Regions from separate parts of the Homo sapiens genome. Here regions 2, 3, 4 and 5 are each linked to region 1. Evidence: promoter capture Hi-C in 16 types of primary human blood cells and fetal thymus (Javierre and others, 2016). All regions are on one chromosome and are shown on one strand. Each heading gives the region's core, a stretch centred on a gene start or on the middle of the fragment in contact. The rest is flanking DNA. Distances are from core to core; before and after follow the strand shown. Region 1 holds the start of PRKACG (protein kinase cAMP-activated catalytic subunit gamma). Region 2 overlaps PGM5 (phosphoglucomutase 5). Region 3 overlaps PGM5 (phosphoglucomutase 5). Region 4 overlaps PGM5 (phosphoglucomutase 5). Region 5 overlaps PGM5 (phosphoglucomutase 5).

Region 1 (2,870 bases), core at 109-2,608:
TAAAACAGGCAGAAGGGGGCTGGGGCAAGGGGGACCCTGTGGGAGGAGAAAGAGAGAAGCACAGAGGGACCAGGAAGGCATGGGGGGGGGTGAGGGAGCAGCTGGTGTTTCTGTTCCTCCAAATATCTGGGCTTCCTGCTCCCCCAACCCTGGAGGGTGGGGTGAGGATGAAATTAGATACAAGGAACTCTGGGGCCCTCTGGCTGTTCAATCCAACCCTCCCATCCCCCAAACCACCAAAAACAAAAAGGAAAGAAAACCCACAGGGGCACAAGCACACCCCTAAAACTCAGAAAACTCCTTGGCACACTTCTCATTGATGGAGATCCGGAGCTCTTCCTCCTCGTAGTCGTCAAAGTTACTGGCATCCCCAGGGCCTGTGTACTTCGGGATGAAGGGAGCTTCCACCTTCTTCTCATAGATGGCGATCCAGCTGGTTGTGGCGAACCACTTGTGGTTCTTGATGTCGCCAACCCCGTTCCTGAGGTTTCCGAAGCGCTTGGTGAGGTCCACCTGCAGCAGGCTCCGCAGCAGATGCTTGAGGTCAGAGCTGAGTTTGGAGGGAAACCGCACCCTCCCAGAGACGATCTTCTCGTAGATCTGGATGGGCTGGTCGGCGTAGAAGGGTGGGAAGCCCACGGCCATCTCATAGATGAGCACCCCTAGGGCCCACCAGTCCACGGCCTTGTTGTAGCCTTTGCTCAGGATGATCTCGGGGGCCAGGTACTCTGGGGTCCCGCACAAGGTCCAAGTGCGGCCCTTCACGCGCTTGGCGAAACCGAAGTCCGTCACCTGCAGGTAGCCCTGCTGGTCGATGAGGAGATTCTCGGGCTTCAGGTCGCGGTGGATGAGGTCGAGCGAGTGTAGGTACTGGACGGCCAGGACGACCTGGGCGGCATAGAAACAGGCATGGGGCTCGCTAAACCTTCCGACGCGCTGTAGGCGGGAGAACATCTCCCCACCCGGCACGTACTCCATCACCAGGTACAGGTAGGAGTTGTCCTTAAAGGAGAACTGGAGCTTGACGAGGAACGGAAAGTCGATCGCCTGCAGGATGCGCTTCTCGTTCAGTATGTGCTCGACCTGCTTCATCTTCACCACCTTCTGCTTGTTGAGGATCTTCATGGCGTAGTGGCCGCCGGTCTCCTGGTGCCTCACCAGCATCACCCGCCCGAAGGAGCCCATGCCCAGCGTCCTGAGCCGTTCGAACTGATCCGAGCTGGCGGTGTTTTGAGCGGGGTTTCCCCATCTGTAGAGGAAATCTCCTCTGGCTTTGGCTAGGAACTCGTTCACGCTCTCCTCCTGCTCGGTGTCCTTCTTGGCGGGGGCGTTGCCCATGGCGGTGGCGGCGGCAGGGGCGGGGGTCTCGCGGCGGCGGCGGCGGCGGCGGCAGCGGCGGAGATGGCGCCCCCTGGGGCTGGCTGCGCTGGCTGCGGCGCTGCGACCCCCGCCCGGCCTCCGCTTATATTCCCAGCTACATGGGAGGCTGAGATGGGAGGATTTCTTGAGCCTGGGAGGTCAAGGCTTCAGTGAGCCAAGATCACGCCGCTGCACTCAACAATATGGATAAATCCAAAAGGCATTATGCAAGTGAGAGAAGCCAACTCTAAAGGAGACTTACTGTATGAATCCATTTCTATGACATTCCAGAAAAGGCAAAACTATAGTGTGAGAGAACAGATCAGTGATTGCCAGGGCTTGGGGTTAGGGGACGGTTGGACTATGAAGGGACAGCCTGAGGGAATGTGGGAAGTGGTGGGACATGTTTGTATCCTGATTGTGCTGGTGGTTACAATGTATTGGGTGGTGGTCTACATTTGTTTTAAAACTCATAGAACTGGCCGGGCGCAGTGGCTAAAGCCTGTAATCCCAACACTTTGGGAGGCCGAGGCGGGCGGATCACAAGGTCAGGAGTTCGAAACCAGCCTGACCACCATAGTGAAACCCCGTCTCTACTAAAAATACAAAAAAATTAGCCAGGCGTGGTGGCGCATGCCTGTAATCCCAGCTACTCGGGAGGCTGAGGCAGGAGAATTGCTTGAACCTGGGAGGCAGAGGTTGCAGTGAGCAGAGATCGTGCCACTGCACACCAGCCTGGGCAATAAGAGTGAAACTCCATCTCAAAAACAAACAAACAAACAAACAAACACCTCAAAGAACTGTATACTTCCCCCCAAAATTCAGTTTTACTGCATGTAATGTTTTATTTTAACACATACATATGATTTCCTTTCTTCTGTTTGCTTTGGGTTTAATTGCTCTTATTTCCTAAGGTGGGAACTAAGGTCACTGATTTGAAATCTTTCTTCTATTACAATCACTTAGTGCTATAAATTTCCTCCTAAGTATTATTTTTTGCAGCATCCCACAAATTTTGGTATGTTGTATTTTCCTTTTCATCCAGCTCAAAATATTTTCTAAGCTCCCTTTTCATCTTCTTTGACAGATAAGCTATTTAAAAGTATATTATTTCGTTTCCAAATACTTGGGGATTTTTCAAGAATTTTCCTATTGATTTCTGATTTAATTCCATTGTTAGAAAACATACTCTGTGTGACCTAAAATGTTTTACACTTCTTGGGGCTCATTTTATGGCCCAGAATATGATCTATCTTGGTAGATGGCCCATATGCACTTGAGAAGAATGTATATTCTGGTGTATTCTGCTGTTTGAGGATACAGTGTTCTACAAATGTCACTTAGGTCAAGTTGGCTAGTAGTAGTGTTCAGGTCTTCTATATTCTTATTGACTTTCTGTTTACTTATTCTATCAATTATTAAAAACATGCCACAGGAGTTTATGAGAAGTCAAAGTACATAGATGATGGGCCTTCCATCACTCCCCCAGGCCACCATGTCAGCCGCCCCAC
Region 2 (2,870 bases), core at 160-2,659, 600 kb before region 1:
TCATGGAACATTGAGCTGCGTATCCTTTCATTTCCATCATTCAGGGTGATATTCAAAATATAGGATAGGCATTTTTAACCCCAAAGTATATTGAGAAGTAAAATTAATGTTGGAGATTAGTACATTACACACCTCATCAAGCAGGAAGAGACAAGAAAGCATATAAATGCGACACAATTCTGGGGCAACTCCTGTCTTCAAAACTTATTTGCTTCAGCTATAGCCGCTGAGGCCTTACTCCTTTTCCTGCCTGTCTTGAAAGATTGTTCTATGCGGCCACCCAGATTTCTTGGGATCTGATGCTAGACCTTGGAGGAAGTCAGGTAAAGCTTTCTAGCTCTGCCTCAGTTGGACCATGTCTCTCCCCTGTCTCTGGTTTCTTGGGCTACTTTGATTTCACTTTCTGTGTTATGGAAACCTCTGGCAGTAACTGTTCCCTGTGTGCCTTACACTTCAATTGAGATGCACAATTGCCAAAGCTCTCTCTGATACCACCAGGGAGCAGCGAACTTAATTCTTCTGTCTTTGATCTCTCTCTTGTTTTGCTGTTTCTCCCCTGACAAGAGGCTGAGCTGCTTTGGGGGCCACCAAGGGCCATTCTCTCCACTTTGTCCTTCACTATATCACATCCCCATATGTCTTCCTATAGTCACCTGCTGGCGTGATTCCATTTTGTTTGTTGAATTTGACTAAAGGTGTCTTGAGCTTAGGAGTCATATCAGCCTGCCCACAAAAGTGTCCCATTTCACTGGGCAAATCAACTAGAATGTTGTTGTATTTACTCTGTGGACTTAGGAAGGGATCCTCTGGGAATTAGCCCCATGGGGTTTCTGTCACCTCCCATTCTACTTTGGCTTAGACAAGGTATCTGAGTTCAGAACCTGACTCTGTTCCTGCGCTCAGCTTTACAGACAAGTGGTATTATTTTTAGCCTGCAGACCTTTTAGTTAACACCCTGCTGCATTGAGGGTGTGAGAGAGAAGTGCTTTGGAAATCAGACTCTGTTACTGATAGCTTGTCCTAAACTGAAAAGGCGACAGGAGAAAGGATGCTTTGTGTTCAAGCAGAAGAAATCTCCGATGCTGCAGCTGCTGCTGCAGCCTTCCCCTGTGTTTCTCACCTTGCTGCGGCCTGCTGTTTGGCAGGACGACTTGACTGGCTGCGCTGTGGTTTCTGCGCCTGTGATGGCTCCTTCTGAATGCCCTCTGAGCCCTGGGGGTCTTATCAGCTGGCTGCGGCGGGGGTGGGAGATGAACAGCTCCCTTGTCAAGCCCGCTTTCTCCTTCTCCTGGGAACCCCTGCCGGGTCACCAGCCTAAACCCCCTCTAGCACCCCATGGCCTCTTGCTTGGGGTGTCAGAGTCAGAGAGAGTAAGGAGGTGTTGGGAGATGAAGTTCAGAGGGTAAAATGATACCGCAGGAGGAACCAGGCTTATGCGAGCTTTATAGTCGGCTGAAAAAGAGAATGTGGTAAAGATCAGGTGGCCCGTTTCAAAATGGCTGGAACTTTTACTTAATACTTTACAAGGTGCGCCCCTGCCCCAAAGTATAGGTGGAAATAAACCTCTGCTTTAAAATCTCAACAGAAAAATCAGATCAAAGAAATCTGGTGAAATACCTTTGATTAAATGTAACACACAATTGATCTCAATTCCATAGCTGATTATTAATTTTTAATTAGGAGTAAGATACAGGCACCATGATGTGTAGATTTTGTTGTCTAAGAAAGAAGATGAATAGAAGATAATATGTTTTAACTTTTTTTTTCCACCAAGTTTTAAAGTTCTAAGACTGCTGGCAATTTTCAATGAATATATGGGGTCTCCATCACTGGCCATTTTATGGGCAAAACAGCAAAACACAAATAGGTTTAATGCTGAGCTCCCAGCCCTTATCTTTGCTTCTCCCCCTCCATTTCCACCAGTCAGGTGTCTAGAAAAGAAGGGCATCCTGGTTGGGAGGAATTGGTTGTGGGGAGGATTTGGCCATGATCAGAGTAGGTACTGCTTCAGACCGAGCTGGGGCATTTTAAAACTGAGGCAGAAGAAGCCATACTTTAGGGGTCCGGGGAAAGAAAGTAGGACTAGGATGGCTCCACAATTCCTCTGCTGATCCTCTCAGAGACTTAGCTTTGCTTAGAAGCATTCCCTGGTAACCAGCATCTATTGCTGTCTTTACTTAGCATTTAAATGCCCCCAGTCTGGCAATGTCAGTTATCTCAGAGCCAAGACAGAATAATTTTGTGGTAGAAATCAAAGAATTTTCAGTGTAACATCTAGGGCAGGATTTGTGCCTCTTTTGCAGTGGATGGCCTTTTCCCCTCTTGACAGAATTCTGTTAGAGCCTCACATTGTTGAGATATCCCCCTCATCTCCATTCTACAGAGTGTTAATGCTGCTGGAAGACTGTCTGTTAAAATCAGATTCCCATCAGGCTTTGAATGCTCCCTACCAAATGGCGTAGCTGCCTTTGATCTGTAGTCTCACTTAAGGAAGCTTTTCAAGTGCATGGAAAATGTCTTGACCCCAGTGTTTGGACCTGTCACTGCTTGCACACCAAATCAAGGTATCATCAAGCTGAAAACGTACACCTAGAGGAATTCCTGCTATTTAATGGGCTCAGCCATTCCTGCTGTATTGATGGCAGTCTCAGCTCAGCTCTCCCTCTGGGGGCTCCGAAGACCCTAGAGTTATGTTCCTCCCAGCAGCAAACCTCTGAGGCTTGGTGTGGCTCAAAGACAGAGTCAGAGCTGCTTTGTCATCTGTGATTCTGTGGGTTGGAGGAGTAGTCAGAAGTAGGTCACATCTGAAGAAAAATTCTCTGCTTGTGATCTTGAGTACAACTGAAGGAAACTGACCCCTTTGAATTCAT
Region 3 (2,870 bases), core at 242-2,741, 580 kb before region 1:
CACATTTGACCTGTTGGCCGATGAACAGATTTGGTTTTAATCAAGTTCCAAGTCAGATAACAGCACTCATGTGATAGTGATCTTTCACTTTAAGGCCATGTTTTGTTCACTGAACCTTGTAAAAATCAAATACATAAATAAAATGAAGAGGTCAGGAAAGATGGTTTGGTTTCTTTCAACCTACTGCTTTTTGAAGGCTCAGGGCCAAAAGAAAAGGAAAGTAGAATGATAGGGATTTTGTTATTTACTATACTTAACTGAATAAGTCTGCAGATGTCTGGAACTATCCTGTATAAAACATCCTATTCACCAGTTCCTAAGAGACCCTCAAAGAGACAATTCGAGTTTAACGCATAAAATATCAAAGTGGGCCAGACGCAGTGGCTCACGCCTATAATCCCAGCACTTTGGGAGGCAGAGGCAGATGGATCACTTGAGGTTAGGAGTTTGAGACCAGCCTGGCCAACATGGTGAAACCCTGTCTCTACTAAAAATACAAAAATTAGCTGTGCATGGTGGTGGGTGCCTGTAACCCGAGCTACTTGGGAGGCTGAGCCAGGAAAATGGCTTGAACCCAAGAGGCAGAGGTTGCAGTGAGCCAAGATTGTGCCACTGCAGTCCAGCCTGGGCAACAGAGTGAGACTCCGTCTCAAAAAAAAAAAAAAAAAAAAAAAGAAAAAGAAAAAAAGAAAAAAATGTCAAAGTGAAGATTTGAAATCTGTTCACAGCAATACAGATATGGTTGAGAATTTTGCATTGATAGGGTACTTTGAGGTCCACTCTGCAAAATATTATTTGTAAATTATTTTGTTTGCTAGTTAGCCAAAGGTGTGAAACCTGGTGTTAAAATTGTGATCTTGGCTTGGTGCGGTGGCTCACGCTTCTAATCCCAATACTTTGGGAGGCCGAGGCAAGTGGATCACCCGAGGTCAGGAGTTTGAGACCAGCCTGGACAACATGACAAAACCCATCTCTACTAAAAACACAAAGTTTGGCTGGGTGTGCTGGCAGGCGCCTGTAATCCCAGCTACTCAGGAGGCTGAGGCAGAAGAATCGCTTGAACCTGGGAGTCGGAGATCGCACCACTGCGCTCCAGACTGAGAGACAGCAAGACTCCATCTCAAAAAAAAAAAAATGGTGATCTCTCTGTGATGTAGGGTCCTGACTAGAGTGACTACTGCACACCACATATAAATTATTCCTACTTATAGTTAAGGTGCCAAAGACTGGTGTTAATTTGATTTTTAAATAAATTGGAATTAATTAAAAATTATCTTAAAGTCACTCGGAAACACTTGCATCCTAAGTGGGAGAGAAAGTGATGGCCATTCTCCTGATAAGTCCTGCCTGCCTCCAGGCCTTTGCTCAAGCTGTTTCCTCTACTAGGAGTGCTGTTCTCACAGCTGGTTCCTATTCTTCCTCCAGTTCTTGGGTTCTGTGCCACCCACTTAGAGAGGCCTCCCTTGAGCACACTACCTAAGGAGAGCCCCTCCCTTTTATTCTTTATCTCAGTCTCTTGTTTCCTTTATAGCCCATGCACATTTAATTTTATTAATTTTCTGCATGTGTTTAGTTTTTAGAATTTTAACAGCTTTATTGAGATATAATTCACACACCATACAGTTTGCACATTTAAAATATACAATTTAATAGTTTTTAGTTTATTCACAGATACATGCAACCATCATCATAATGGTTGGCAATTTTCATCGGGTAAAAAAGAAATCCTGTACCCTTTAGCTATCACCCCATCATACATCCATCACCTCTCCATCCCTAAGCAACCACAAATCTACTTCCTGTCTCTGTAGATTTCCCTTTTCCAGACTTTCATATGAATAAAATCATATACTATGAGGTCTTTTGTATCTGGTTTCTTTAACTTAGCCTCATGTTTTTAATGTTCATCAGTGTTGTAGCATGTATCAGAACTTTATCCCTTTTTATGGCTTAATAATATTTCACCATATGGTTATAGTGTGTTTTGTTTATCCATTTGTCCATTGATGGACATTTGGGTTGTTTATATTTTTTGTCTATTATGAATAATGCTGCTTTAAGAATTTGTGTACAAGTTTTTATGTGAACATGTGTTTTCTTTTCTCTGTATCCTGTATCTAAAAGTGGGCTTGCTGAGTTGCTTATATATATTTTTGGATGTCTCATTTACTACAGTAGAAACTCCATAAGAACAGGGACCACATCTGCCTTGTCACTCTTACTGCCACAGTACCTGGCATTCTACCTTACAAAGTAGGTGATTTGTTAGTAACTTGGTGAACTTTTCGGTAAACTAACATGCATTGCACCTACCAGACATCTGGCATGGTGCTGGATGCCTATATTAGATATGGCCTGAAGGAGTTACTGTGCCAGAAATGTCAGCCCCAGCACCAACATCCTCACACTTACTAAGGGAACTAACCCGGAGACCCACCTGCCTATTTCACACCACATAACTTAGCTCCCACAGCAAGACTTCACCCTTGAGCCATAACAGATTAGCCCAAAGGTGGGCAACCAGCACAAATGTAGCCTATTACAAACTGGTCAGTGTCCTTTGAGGTACAGCAAAAAGCTCTACCCAAACAGGGAATTACCAAGCCTATCATGTCTTGTTTTTAATAATCCTGAACCTAGTAATTTGAATATATAAGAAGTAGGTAAGACTTAGTGGGAGTAGTTTACAGGTCATTGGCGGAGGGAAGCTGGTAGGTCAAGATGATCGTGGAAGTTATACACAACCAGAATGATGAGAAAGCAGGACCCGGAAGATAAAAAATGTACTTATAGAATGAAGACGAGCAGCCAGAGAGAAGGAGTATCTGGGTCAAGGTGATGACAAGCCAATGACAAACTGTATACACTCC
Region 4 (2,870 bases), core at 258-2,757, 560 kb before region 1:
CCATCTCCTTCCTCTTCCCCTACCACATCCTCTGGATCTGAACCCCAGAACAAGACTGCTCAGGGGAACAGAGAACATGTCACTCAGATACCAAACAGACGTACTGTCAGCCACATTCACTAGCCATGCCTTCAGCTGTCCCCACTAGGCTAGTCCCAGAGTGGATGCTAAGGCAGGGCTGCCCTTCCCTGCTGAGTTCAGAGCTTAGTGCAAACTAGGACCTGGAGGAGGGGTATCTCTGCTTCCAAGGCATCACCTTCCAACATCTCCTTTCTCAAGGCTCTTTGGACAAGACATCTTGCTGGGAATCCTTGATGTGAGTTAAAAGCATTTAACATAGTCCTTCTTCTCCCTTGCTCTTCAAAAGTGTTCAGTAGGAGTAAATTCCCTTGGACCCCACCACTATCATAGTCCTATGAAGAAAATATTGGTTGGTAAATCTTAGCCAGCATTTTCCCATGTGTGCTGAATGAAACCACCAACTCCACAAGGTGCTCTGTGTAAATGTGAGAAATGTATACTCTACCCTCTTTGTGAAGTTTTACAATGAAATGAGCATTTGGTTTTGAAATATCCTGCCAAAGTAGAGAGTCCACTTTTACCATAGTCTCTTACCTTTTCATAATAAATTTATAGCACTGGACTTGGTAAATTAACATATAAGGTTATTAACCTTTTCAGCCAACCCTTTGTATGTAATTCCTTTGGAAATTCATCCACCATCGCTTAATTTTATCTTAAACTTTCTGGTTTGGTTTTGTTTTTTGAGACAGGGTCTTGCTGCTGCCCAGGCTGGAGTACAGTGGCATAATTATAGCTAACTGCAGCCTTGAACTCCTGGGCTCAAGCAATCCTCCCATCTCAGCCTCCCAAGTAGATGAGACTACAGGTGCACACCACCACAGCTGGCTAATTTTAGTATTTTTTCTTTTTTTGAGCCAGGAGTTTTGCCTAGGGTGGTCTCAAACTCCTGGGCTCAAGCTATCCCCCCTCCTTGGCCTCCCAAAGTGTTGGGATTACAGGGGTGAACATGCTGTAATCTCCCTCCTTATCTCAAACTTTCAATCATCCCATGTATTTGCTTCCACTGGTATTTTAAGACCAAGTTCTGGAAGCACCTTTATATTAATGTAGGAGGAGTCCATGTTCTGATGGGCCCCATGAAGTTTGCATGAAATGAGCAAGTGTCTTTAAGCACTTACCTTCAAGAGACTAACGGATTAGAGAAGGAGTTAGGTGTCCCAGCATCTAAGGCAATATCCTGTGCTGAGTGTCTAACTCCTGGGGTTTGCAGTGGCAGTACAAAGAGAGGACTGGCCAGATAAACCTGGAAAGTAAGGAAGCGGCCTAAGTCCAGGAGGGGGTGGATGAAGAGTGTACTGGTGTCTTTCATTTTCCTTCAAGACCTCCACTCCATCTCTTTCTCTCTGCTCCCCGTCCTGTAGACTGACCTATAGGGACTATCAAGAGATCCCCACCCTTCCCTCCAGATTTTAGTTGGGCTTGGGCAATTGGGAGCACTGCAGTTACTAGACAGAAGGAGGAGAATGCAAGCAGGGATTTCTTTCTCTCCCTATAGGATTTCCATAGGCTGGAAACATGACTCTTCTGAAGGTCAAGGTTCCTGCCAAGCAGCCCTATCCACACAGATCTGTCCCTGGATTTCAGTAATGAATCTAGGGATGGGACGCTGGTAGCCCTGATGTTACTTGCCCTCTCCACTAGCCACACCTGTGTAAACAGTTCCTGTATTAAACTCTCAAACTACTCAGTTTTGAGTGTGCCATCAATTCTGTTGGGGACCTCATTGATACAAGGAGTATCCCTACCTAAGTGAACGATGTGTGCAAAGAACTGAAGTGGCCTGGTGCTTGAAGGGGGCTCCATCTCAAAAATAGTTTGTTATGGCAGGATGATGCCGCAGTAGGAGAGTTCATGAGGCCGATCACTCTTGCCGATGCCCACGGAGTGCTCTGGGGATCCAGGGCTCCCAGGCCTCATCGCATTTAGTCCCCACTGAGTAAGGAGACATATTATCATTCCATTTTGTAGGTAAAAGATCCAGGCTTATGGAGGTTAAGTAACTTGGCCAAGGTTGCACTGCAAGAAGGGGTGGAGCTGCGTGGGGACTGAGAGTCCCTACTCTCCTCCGTGCTAAGACATTAAACTGGATTCCACAGGCAGCGCATGTTTGCCTGCCTTTCCTGCTCACTCAGCCTTAGCTTTTGCTGTAAAACTCTCACGTCCCACAAAAGAACATTGACCTTTCCAATATTCCCTTTCCTCGTAACTATGTGTCATTAAACTGAAGTGTTTCTTTAAAAGACATTAGAGCAGAATTAGTATGGCATGACCTTTCCTTATGCTTCCTGATAAAATTAAACTCAAACCTGGGTGACCGAAGGAAACCCTGGGAAGGTAAATGCAGTCTTGAAGATGGTTCCTTTCAGGCAGGGTGGCTGCCTGTGCATCCCTTGATATATGCTCGTCTTCTCGGAACCATGCAGAGAGAGCTGCCTGTGACCTGATTTGGCTTCATAGGAAACAGCAACCTGCGTCATCCATTGGGTCACAGATCAGAGTTACACGATGAAATGAAACAGGTGGAATGTGGTGTTCAATCCATGGTATTCTGAACCCACCATGGACAGCTGACACTCACATTCCCAAAGGGAATGCAAAGTTTTGCATGTTGCCCTGCTCAGGGCATCTCCGCCTGGAATCGGTAGAGTTTTGGCCCTGAGAGATATTAATCTATTGTCCAAAAAACAGGAACTCCCTAAAGAGAGCCAAAAATAAGAACCATACCCAGGACTGATGAATTCTTTTCTGTGATATTGGTGGACAGGTTAGCAGGAGAAAAGGAAGGG
Region 5 (2,870 bases), core at 99-2,598, 530 kb before region 1:
TTCTAGTATATTTACAGAATTGTGCAGTTATCACCACAACCAATTCAGAACACTTTCATCACCCCAGAAAAGAAATGTTGTGCTCTTTAGCTGTCATCTTCCTCCCAACATCCCTCCAACCCACAGCCCCTGGCAACCCCTGATCTTTCTGTCTCTATGGATTCGCCTATTTGGGACATTTTGTATAAATGGAATCATATAATACAAGGTCCTTTATGACTAGCTTCTTTCACTTATTGTAATATTTTCAGGGTTCATCCACTTTGTACCATATATCAGTACTTATTCCTTTTATTACCAAGTAATATTCTATCACGTGGATGTACCACAGTTTGTTTATCCATCCATTTGCTGTTGGATGTGTGAGGTATTTCCACTTTTTGACTATAATGCTGCTGTGGACATCCATCTACAAGTTTTTGTGCAGAGATAGGTTTTCAATTCTCCTGGGTACATACTTAGGAGCGGAATTGCTGGGTCAAATGGTATCTCTATGTTTAACCCTTAAAGGAACTGCCATATGGTCTTCGTAAGCAATTGCACCACTTGACATTCCTGCCAACAGTATATGAGGGTTCCAGTTTCTCCACACCTTTGCTAACCCTTGTTATTATGTCTTTGTGATTTAAAAATACTGTTATTTTAAAACAACCTACTATATTATGGATTATTTTTAAATTAAGATAGAAGGAGATTTGATTTCTATAAGGAGAAACAGAACTATATCTCTCTGTTAGCAAAGCTCAGAGGAGACATAATACTGCCAAGTGTCTGCTTCCTACAGGAGGCAGGTTGTTGTGGTTCTCTTCAGTATTCTCTTGTGTTGGAGTCAGATAGACACAGGATTGAAAGCTGGCCTTGTCACTGCCTAGATTTGTGATTTTAGGCATATTATTTAACTTCTTTGAACCTCATCTTGAGGGGAGGAGCTAGTGATAATTATCACACATGCATCATGGGGAAAGTTTGAAGAGAAAGTCATGTGAAGCCTCAGGTACAGCGGCAAGTACCTAATTGATGCTCAAGAAATATCAGTTCCCTCCCCTTGACCAGAATCCTTAATTTGATTGAATATCAGTTCAAGAAAAGGATACAACTATTCTCTCTCTCTCTCTCTCTGTGTCACACGCACATACACACACACACACACACACACACACACACACACAAATCAGGTGTATATTTTTAAAAGTAATAATCAGTGTGCCCTAGGGTTAGAAAACCCTCACCCAACTCTTCTATTTATTCTATTTTAAAAGTACTTTGCAGTAAAATTTGAGGCTCAGATTGATGATCCCAAGGTAGTGGGAGATTCCCAGTTGTCTCTTGTTTGGGTTAAATTCTACTTACTTAAAAAAAAAGTAGATAGCAGAAATAATTTTCAACAATGAATTGTTAAAATTTGTGCTGTTCCCGTTTTATACAGAAATTCTCTTCAAGAGCAGCTTTCTGCTCCAGAGCACCCAAGGCAACCTTGGTGCCATTGTAAATCGTGTGAGCAATGGTTGGGTGTGCAGGCTTGAAGTCAGAAAGTTTTGGGTTTGAGCCTCAACTCTGCCACCTCCTTGCTGGGTTATCTTAGGCAAGCTATTCAACCCCCCTACACCTGCATTTTTAAAATCTGTGAAATAGGAATAATAATTGTGGCTGTCTCATATAAGCGTTTGGGAGAATTAAGTGAGATGACACTTATAAAATCCTGGCACATAACAAATGATAACAATTGGTTAAATAAAATTATTTATGTTTTAAAAAAAGCATCCTTGGGAAAGACTGTAGCATTGAATGAACCAGATATGATAAGAAAAGCAGAAAAAAAACACACAATTTTGCAGTGTCACATAAAGATTTGAGAAGGCCCCTTCAGTTTCTAAGTCATCTGGGAATTGATTCAAACTCATATTTCTCCCCCTCTCCCATCCCCCAGCACACACACTCTGCTTTAGAAAGCGAAAGGTTTTTTAAGGCAGCTTGGTCTCCTTTATGTCCTTGACCTGAGGTCAGAGTCAGGAAATAAACCATGGAAAAAAATCCTGTTTCACATACATCTCCAGAGATAAAGTAGAAATGCTTCTCCATCCAAAATGAAATTAAAATCCTGTTCTGGTGATAACCACCCCACTACTGCCAACCCTGCTGCTGTGGAAACGTTCAGTGAAGGCTATCCTGCCTGGCTTTATGGGACCATTCAAGGAGCAAGAAGGAAACCCTGAAGTTCTCAACCCCTGACATGATTTCCCAGGGACCTCCCTGGCCTCAATGTGGCATGTTTGGTTTCATGGGATTTACTATGGCTGCCTCCAAGTGTCTGATGCATGTGTGACCTCGGATGCCAAGAGAAAAATTGATGTGTGCTTTCCACTATACAGGGCCCAAGAGAGACTCTGTTTGATTTAGAAAGCATTTTCATGAGGCATGGTTCAACAACTGCAGTTCTTCCTTCTATCTTCATGAGGATATGTCACTATTTTCAAGTGAAATCTAGTCACATGAAGGACTGACTGATGCTATTTTCTTCAAATATAAGTGGAAAAAAATAAGCCTATAGCTACAATGAGAATAGGGGAGCACTTTGATCAAATGGCTAAGTAGTTAAAGGAGTTCCCAGTTTATACCTTCTAAAGAGATAGGACAGAGAGGAGTTGTGTGATTCATGTGGGTTGCAGGGTGAGCCACTCTTTCTTCAGGGGCGACTTCATTGTGCAAACATCGAGGGTTTCCATCCATCATGCTAGGTGAGCTCTTTCTTCCCTTCACCATCGATACCCTAAAGAATATTATCAAGATTGTCTCTTACTATGATCTTTTCTCCATCTCTAACATGTGGCCTAAGTCCTGGAATCTCCACTCAGTGCCACAGTTGTGAGACT

What was found. Contacts are between HindIII fragments. The CHiCAGO score rates a contact against its expected background, and 5 or more counts as called.
Region 2: a fragment that was not itself captured here is called in contact with the fragment with the promoter of PRKACG in region 1 in 7 of 17 cell types (M1 macrophages, monocytes, neutrophils and 4 more); the score reaches 8.1 in M1 macrophages.
Region 3: a fragment that was not itself captured here is called in contact with the fragment with the promoter of PRKACG in region 1 in 6 of 17 cell types (total B cells, monocytes, M1 macrophages and 3 more); the score reaches 8.1 in total B cells.
Region 4: a contact is called between a fragment that was not itself captured here and the fragment with the promoter of PRKACG in region 1, in 5 of 17 cell types (naive B cells, M2 macrophages, M1 macrophages and 2 more). The highest score is 7.8, in naive B cells.
Region 5: a fragment that was not itself captured here is called in contact with the fragment with the promoter of PRKACG in region 1 in 2 of 17 cell types (neutrophils and M2 macrophages); the score reaches 11.3 in neutrophils.

Annotation. Positions count from the first base shown.
Region 1 is chr9:69,012,755-69,015,624 of GRCh38, forward strand. It overlaps PRKACG (protein kinase cAMP-activated catalytic subunit gamma), which reads right to left and starts at 1,359. Exons shown (of 1, transcript NM_002732.4): 1 at 1-1,359. The coding sequence starts at 1,338. The coding sequence ends at 283. The HindIII fragment of the contact is 8,295 bases long and covers 1-2,870 here.
Region 2 is chr9:68,417,497-68,420,366 of GRCh38, forward strand. The region is part of intron 6 of PGM5 (phosphoglucomutase 5); the gene reads left to right. Among named protein-coding and RNA genes, the nearest start is that of PGM5-AS1, 61 kb to the left of the region's middle. The HindIII fragment of the contact is 2,165 bases long and covers 328-2,492 here.
Region 3 is chr9:68,433,666-68,436,535 of GRCh38, forward strand. The region is part of intron 6 of PGM5 (phosphoglucomutase 5); the gene reads left to right. Among named protein-coding and RNA genes, the nearest start is that of PGM5-AS1, 77 kb to the left of the region's middle. The HindIII fragment of the contact is 3,415 bases long and covers 1-2,870 here.
Region 4 is chr9:68,452,593-68,455,462 of GRCh38, forward strand. The region is part of intron 6 of PGM5 (phosphoglucomutase 5); the gene reads left to right. Among named protein-coding and RNA genes, the nearest start is that of TMEM252, 87 kb to the right of the region's middle. The HindIII fragment of the contact is 7,166 bases long and covers 1-2,870 here.
Region 5 is chr9:68,486,330-68,489,199 of GRCh38, forward strand. All of the region lies in intron 9 of PGM5 (phosphoglucomutase 5), which reads left to right. Among named protein-coding and RNA genes, the nearest start is that of TMEM252, 53 kb to the right of the region's middle. The HindIII fragment of the contact is 5,173 bases long and covers 1-2,870 here.